Regions from separate parts of the Homo sapiens genome. Here region 2 is linked to region 1. The links are contacts of gene promoters, found by promoter capture Hi-C in human tissues and cell types (Jung and others, 2019). All regions are on one chromosome and are shown on one strand. The core of a region is centred on a gene start or on the middle of the fragment in contact, and the rest is flanking DNA. Distances in the headings are between cores, read along the strand shown.

Evidence for each region. The method cuts DNA at HindIII sites, captures the fragments that hold promoters and counts their contacts. A contact is called where the count stands out against the background at its distance.
Region 2: the fragment with the promoter of SLC25A39 here is called in contact with the fragment with the promoter of FAM215A in region 1 in 1 of the 25 tissues and cell types used here (IMR-90 fibroblasts).

Annotation. Positions count from the first base shown.
Region 1 is chr17:43,915,929-43,918,687 of GRCh38, forward strand. It overlaps FAM215A (family with sequence similarity 215 member A), which reads left to right and starts at 1,280. Exons shown (of 1, transcript NR_026770.1): 1 at 1,280-2,059. It overlaps LOC105371787 (a long non-coding RNA gene), which reads right to left and starts at 1,296. Exons shown (of 2, transcript XR_001752898.2): 1 at 1,210-1,296. RefSeq lists enhancers at 1,102-1,923, 1,924-2,744. The HindIII fragment of the contact is 7,093 bases long and covers 1-2,759 here.
Region 2 is chr17:44,323,559-44,326,419 of GRCh38, forward strand. It overlaps SLC25A39 (solute carrier family 25 member 39), which reads right to left and starts at 1,265. Exons shown (of 12, transcript NM_001143780.3): 1 at 1,153-1,265; 2 at 1-19. The coding sequence starts at 4. It overlaps LOC124904009 (a long non-coding RNA gene), which reads left to right and starts at 1,895. Exons shown (of 2, transcript XR_007065768.1): 1 at 1,895-2,063. RefSeq lists silencers at 808-1,027, 1,048-1,477 and enhancers at 1,578-1,767, 1,928-2,007, 2,058-2,117, 2,188-2,861, 2,298-2,347. The HindIII fragment of the contact is 13,748 bases long and covers 1-2,861 here.

The DNA.
Region 1 (2,759 bases), core at 30-2,529:
GGGGGAGACCGATTTGAGTAATAACTATTTCCTGTGTGCCCGGCCTTGTGTCAATTACTCTTTCTTTACTGCAATGCCATGGTCTCAGTGGATTGGTTTTGTCTGTGCAGTAGGCAGGAAGAACCCATCAGGTGATTACAGTACCTGCACCCCCAACCTGCTTTGGGAAGAATCCAGCCAAAAAACTTGAGGCCTGCAGCCTCAGGGTGAGAACAAGACAAAAGGGGGATGGAGGGAGATTGACTCGCTGTGTCTCAGCTCCAGAGCAGCCCCCCTGCAGCCTCCCAAGGGTTTATGCAAATCATCAAAGGGATTCCTTGAGGCAAAAGGTTTGAGTCTGCAGTTCTGAGACCCCCAAGGATGTGAGGAGAGACCCAGGCCTATCTCCTTTGGGAGGGGCCCCAAACTTGGGGGAAGGGATACTGGATGCCAACTGAAACCCAAACATAAAATTCTAAGCTCACCCAACCATCTGAATGGACTCCTCCTCTCCACTCAGCAAAGGGCATTCCAAAGTTAACCTGAAAACTAGTTCAGGCCATGATGGGAAGGGGAGCCCAGTCATGCCTAATTATACGATCCCTCCTTTTGGACTTACTGATAGAACAGACTCTTTAAGTCTGAAAGGAAACATTTACAGTCTATTCTCTCTGAAGCCTGCCACCTGGAGGCTTCACCTGCGTGATAAAACCTTGGTCTCCACAATCTCTTATCTTAACCCAAACATTCCTTTCTGTTGATTTTAAGTCTTTAGACAGTAATTTAACTCTTTCCACCAATTGCCAATCAGAAAATCTTTCGATCTACTTATAACCTGGAAGTCGTCCACTTCCCCAACCCCATTCCAGTTGTCCAGCCTTTCCAGATCAAACCACTGTACATGTCGCATATATTATTGATGTCCGATGTCTCCCTGAAACACATAAAACCAAGTTGTGGCCTGATCACCTTGGGCACATGTTCTCAGGATCTGCTGAAGGCTGTCATGGGCCATTGGTCATGCATAGTAGGCTCAAAATAAATCCCTTCAAATATTTTACAGAGTTTGACTCTTTTGGTTGACACACCAAGCTCAAGCAGGAAGAACCGGGCTCAAGAACTGTCTCTCTCCTTTCTCTCTGTTAGGCATGGGGGGGAAGGGAGTGTTGTGTTAGGCATGCGGAGGGGAAGGGAACAGGGTTGTGTGCAGAGGAAAATGCAAATTCTTACCTTGTCAGGGTCTCTGACCTGATGGCGACCCGTGGTGGAGTCTTCACAGAGACAGATACCACTGCAAGGGCAGACCCAGACTGTGCAACCCCCAAAGCAGGTCTCCTCACTCACCGGGATAGATAGAACTATCGGCCCCAATTCCTCAGCCCTACCTGCAACCACCGCTTGCCATGGTTTCCTTGTGGGTGGAGGGTACTTTCCCGCCCCCTGGTTTCGGGCTTGCCCACGTGGCTTGCTCTGGCCATGGAATGAAGCAGAAACGAAAGCCTGCCAGTTCTGAGCCTACGCCGGAAGACGCCTTGGGCGGTTCCGCGGTCCCTGTGCGCTTCCACCTTCACCCAGAAGGACTTCTCTGGTGCAGCCGCTGCTTCTTCAGCCACGGCCCAAAAGGATCGGAGCCCCCTGGCCGATCCGCAGGTCTGCAGGGAGCCACAGAGCGCAGCGGCCGGCCCAGCGTTCAAGCCCAAGCACAGGCCTGCGAGAACCTTGTTCCAGCCACCGTTTGGGATGGTTGATTAGGACTTGTTGCTGTGGCGGTAGCTCACCAATCCAATGCGTGCACCCGCTCCTTTATTAGGCTATAGGGCCAGTGGCTGCGACAGGGACCTGATACAACAGTGCGTTAAATAAGGAGCTTATTGAGCTATCATGTCGTAAGCCGGTGGAGAAGTCCAGGGCTAGTGTGGGGGCTCCGGCGGGGGCTGTGGCCCCCATCCGCATGGAGCCTCCCCACGGTTCACAGGTCTCGGTCTTCGGAGCCTTCAGCCCCGTGAGCCCGAACAGTCCACACGGCGGCGCCAGACCCTCTTCCCAACGCCACCCTCTGAAGCCTCCGCTCCAACCGTCTCCACTTCTGCTTCAGGCTCAGGATTTTCACTTTTCTCGAATGGGGGTGGCCCTCCCCTGATCTTCTGAGTCGCAACAGCATCTCCCTCCCTCCAGGACCTCAGAGCCAGAGCTGGGCGAGAGGCCCTGACCTCCGGGGTAGGGTGGCAGCATCCCTGTGAAGGTGCGGTCCTGCCTCCCATCCCCAGGCGCCCGGCCTCTCCCACCCTCAGCGCCCTGCTCACCGCCAGCTGAAGATGCCAGGGCACCTCTGCTTCCTCCCTGCCCTCTCTGCAGTATCGCAGAGTGAGCATAAAAGGGCTTAATATAGGCTTCACTGGTCGTGGTGGCTCGCGCCTGTGAACTCAGTAACTTGGGAGGCCAAGGCCGGAGGATCACTTGAGGCCAGGAGTTCAAAACCAGCCTGGGCAACAAGGTGAGGCCTGTCTCTAAAAAAAAAAAAAAAAAAAAAAAAGAAAAGAAAAGAATAAAATAGGTTCCTTTTTCTGGGAGATTGATGTAGGGGAGCGAGCGTGTGTGAGTTGGAAGGGAGGCATTGAGGATCAGCCATTTAAAGCAGCACACAAGGATGTTCAAGGCTAGAGATCCACAGGTGTATTTTCAGAAACTGAATTTCCTGGCTGGGCGTGGTGGCTCACACCTGTAATCCCAGCACTTTGGGAGGCCAAGGCAGGAGGATCACTTGAGGTCAGGAGTTCAAG
Region 2 (2,861 bases), core at 15-2,514, 410 kb after region 1:
CCATCTTGAAGCTTCAGTCCTGAAAACCAAACCTCAAACAGACCACAACTCCAGGGATGGCAGGAAAGGAGGCTGGGCCACTGTGAGACTTTTGTTTTGAGACGGCGTCTCGCTCTGCGCACTGTTGCCAGGCTGGAGTGCAGTGGCACCATCTTGGCTCACTGCAACATCCACCCCCGTTCAAGCGGTTCTCTTGCTTCAGCCTCCCAAGTAGCTGGGACTACAGGCGCGCACCACCACGCCTAGTTAATTTTTGCATTTTTAGTAGAGACAGGGTTTCACCATGTTGGCCAAGATGATCTCGATCTCCTGACCTCGTGATCCGCCCGCCTCAGCCTCCCAAAGCACTGGGATTACAGGCGTGAGCCACCGCACCCGGCCCACTGTGAGACTTTAACCCAACCCTCATCCACCGCCCTCGAAACATCTGTTGCCTCAACAACCCTGGCAATGACCTCTAAAGCAGGGACTGTCCGCCCCCCTCCGCCGGGGAAAACTAAGGCTCGGGGAGACGAGGTGGCCTGCCCAAGGTCACTCAGGAGTGGTTCCGAAGGAAGCTAGGGTGCCAGACCTATCGCTCGAATGCAGTAGGAGCCAGGGTCCTTCCCTCGTCCACCTCGCACGTGTCCACTGCGCACCTCCTACGTGCAGGCGCGGATTTGGCCCTCGTGGCCCCAAAATCAGAGTACCTGTGCTGCCCCCACAGCCCCCACTCCAGCACCAAGGCCCCGGGCAGGCACCTGAGAGCCCAAGTTACTGGGCGTGGAGGGACGGCCGGGCATCGAGGGTGACGTGTAAACAGATCCGGTGACCAAGAAGGGCCCGTCGCCTCCTCAGGACTGCGGGCTGGGATGCCCGGCCCTCCCCGCCCGGCCGGACGGGCCAGACCCGGGGCCCGGAGAGAAAGAGCAGTCTCTGGGTTCCCGCCCCAAAATGCAGGCCCGGGGCGCAGCCGGGAGAGCGGGAAGTAGGAACGTAGGACCAGGACGTCTCCCCGACCCTCGGCGACACTCCCGGCCCCGAACGGCGGAGAGCCGCCAGGTGAGGGGGACCACGCCAGCTCGACGGCCCCAGCACCTGCCCTGGCTCGCACGGCCGCCCGGAGACCCCCGCTTCCGTCTCCGCCCCCAGCCCCGGCCCAGTGCCGCCTACCTGGCTCTAGGCTGGTGCTCGTGCGGCGCGGCGCCCAGGGTCAGGCGGGCCCATACCGGCTCCGCCGCCTGTGCGCGGTCCGCGCGCGCTCGCAGCGCACCTAGGCCGACGCCGAAAGCAGCCAAGGGGGCCCCGCCCCTACACCGCGCCACGAGGCCCCGCCCGCCGCGGGCCGACCAGCCGCAAGCCCGGAGTGTCCCCGGCTCCGCCCACTCGCGTCTCCGCCCGGACCTGCGACGGTCCCGCCCCCTTGACGGGGCCGCGCGGGCGAGTTCCATGCCTGTCCAGCGCTGAGAGCTGCCGGCCAACTTCGCGGTCTCCACGTCGCGCTTAACGTGGCAGCAGCACGCACTTCCAGCATCTTTTTTTAGACAGCATCTTTTTCAGCCTCGCTCTGTCGCCGAGGCTGGAGGGCAGTGGCGCGATCTAGGCTCACTGCAGCCTTGACCTCCCGGGTTCAAGCGATCCTCCTGCCTCAGCCTCCGGAGTAGCTGGGACCACAGGCGCGCGCCGCCACGCCCGGCTGGTTTGTTACTTTTATTTTTGTCTCCCTATTTTGCCCAGGCTAGTCTGGAACTCCTGGGCTCAAGCGATCCGCCCACCTCGGTCTTCGAAAGTGCTGGGATTCCAGGCGTGAGCCGCCGCGCCGGCCTTAACAGCGCATTTTCACCAGCCCCGCCCCGGCCGCGCGCGGCACTGGAAACCCCAGCGCCTTCTGGACGGCGAGGGTGACGCACTGGCCCTCTTCCTCGGTGTCCTCAGGTGCGTGGCGGCGGCAGTGAGAATGAGTTCTTCGAGATCGCCGGGAGACCACACAATAACGACGAAGTTACTTGCCGGGCTACCCGCCGAGACTTGAAAACTTCGCGGCGACTTCTCTCGCCGGCCTTAGCATCGCCCCCATTTTTCAGGTTACAGGACAGGCCTGCAACTGCAAAACGCTTTGTAAACCACAGGGCCCCGCGCGGGTGTGCGCCACTGGGTTAGCTGAGCTGCAGCCCGGGCCGGGCGGGCTGGGACGTGAGCAAGCCGGGGGAGACGGGAGAGCCATGGGGAGCCAGATCCCACCTTCGCGTGACCTTGGGCAAATCACAACCTCGCCTAAGGCCCGGAATGACTCTGCGCGGAGAGGAAGAGCACTGAGTGCGGGAGGGCATCGACGTTTTGGTGTTGGTTGCTCTCGTATCGTGATTTCTTCTGAGTCTCAAAACTCTTTGCAGTAGGTTATTGTTGAAATAGATTACCACAGGCCGGGCGCGGTGGCTCACGCCTGTAATCCAGCACTTTAGGAGGCCGAGGCGGGCGGATCACTTGAAGTCAGGAGTTCGAGACCAGCCTGGCCAACATGGTGAAACCCCGTCTCTACTAAAAATACAAAAGTAGCCGGGCATGATGGCTGGCGCCTGTAATCCCAGCTACTCGGGAGGCTGAGGCAGGAGAATCGCTTGAACCCGGCCGGCGGAGGTTGCAGTGAGCCGAGATCGCACCACTGCATTCCAGCCTGGGCAACAGAGTAACACTCCGTCTCAAAAAAAAAGGCCGGGCGCAGTGGCTTACGCCTGTAATCCCAGCCTTTTTGGAGGCCGAGGCGGGCGGATCACCAGAGGTCAGGAGTTCGAGAGCAGCCTGACCAACATGGTGAAACCTCGTCTCTACTAAAAATACAAAAAATTAGCCGGGCGTGGTGGCGCATGCCAGTAATCCCAGCC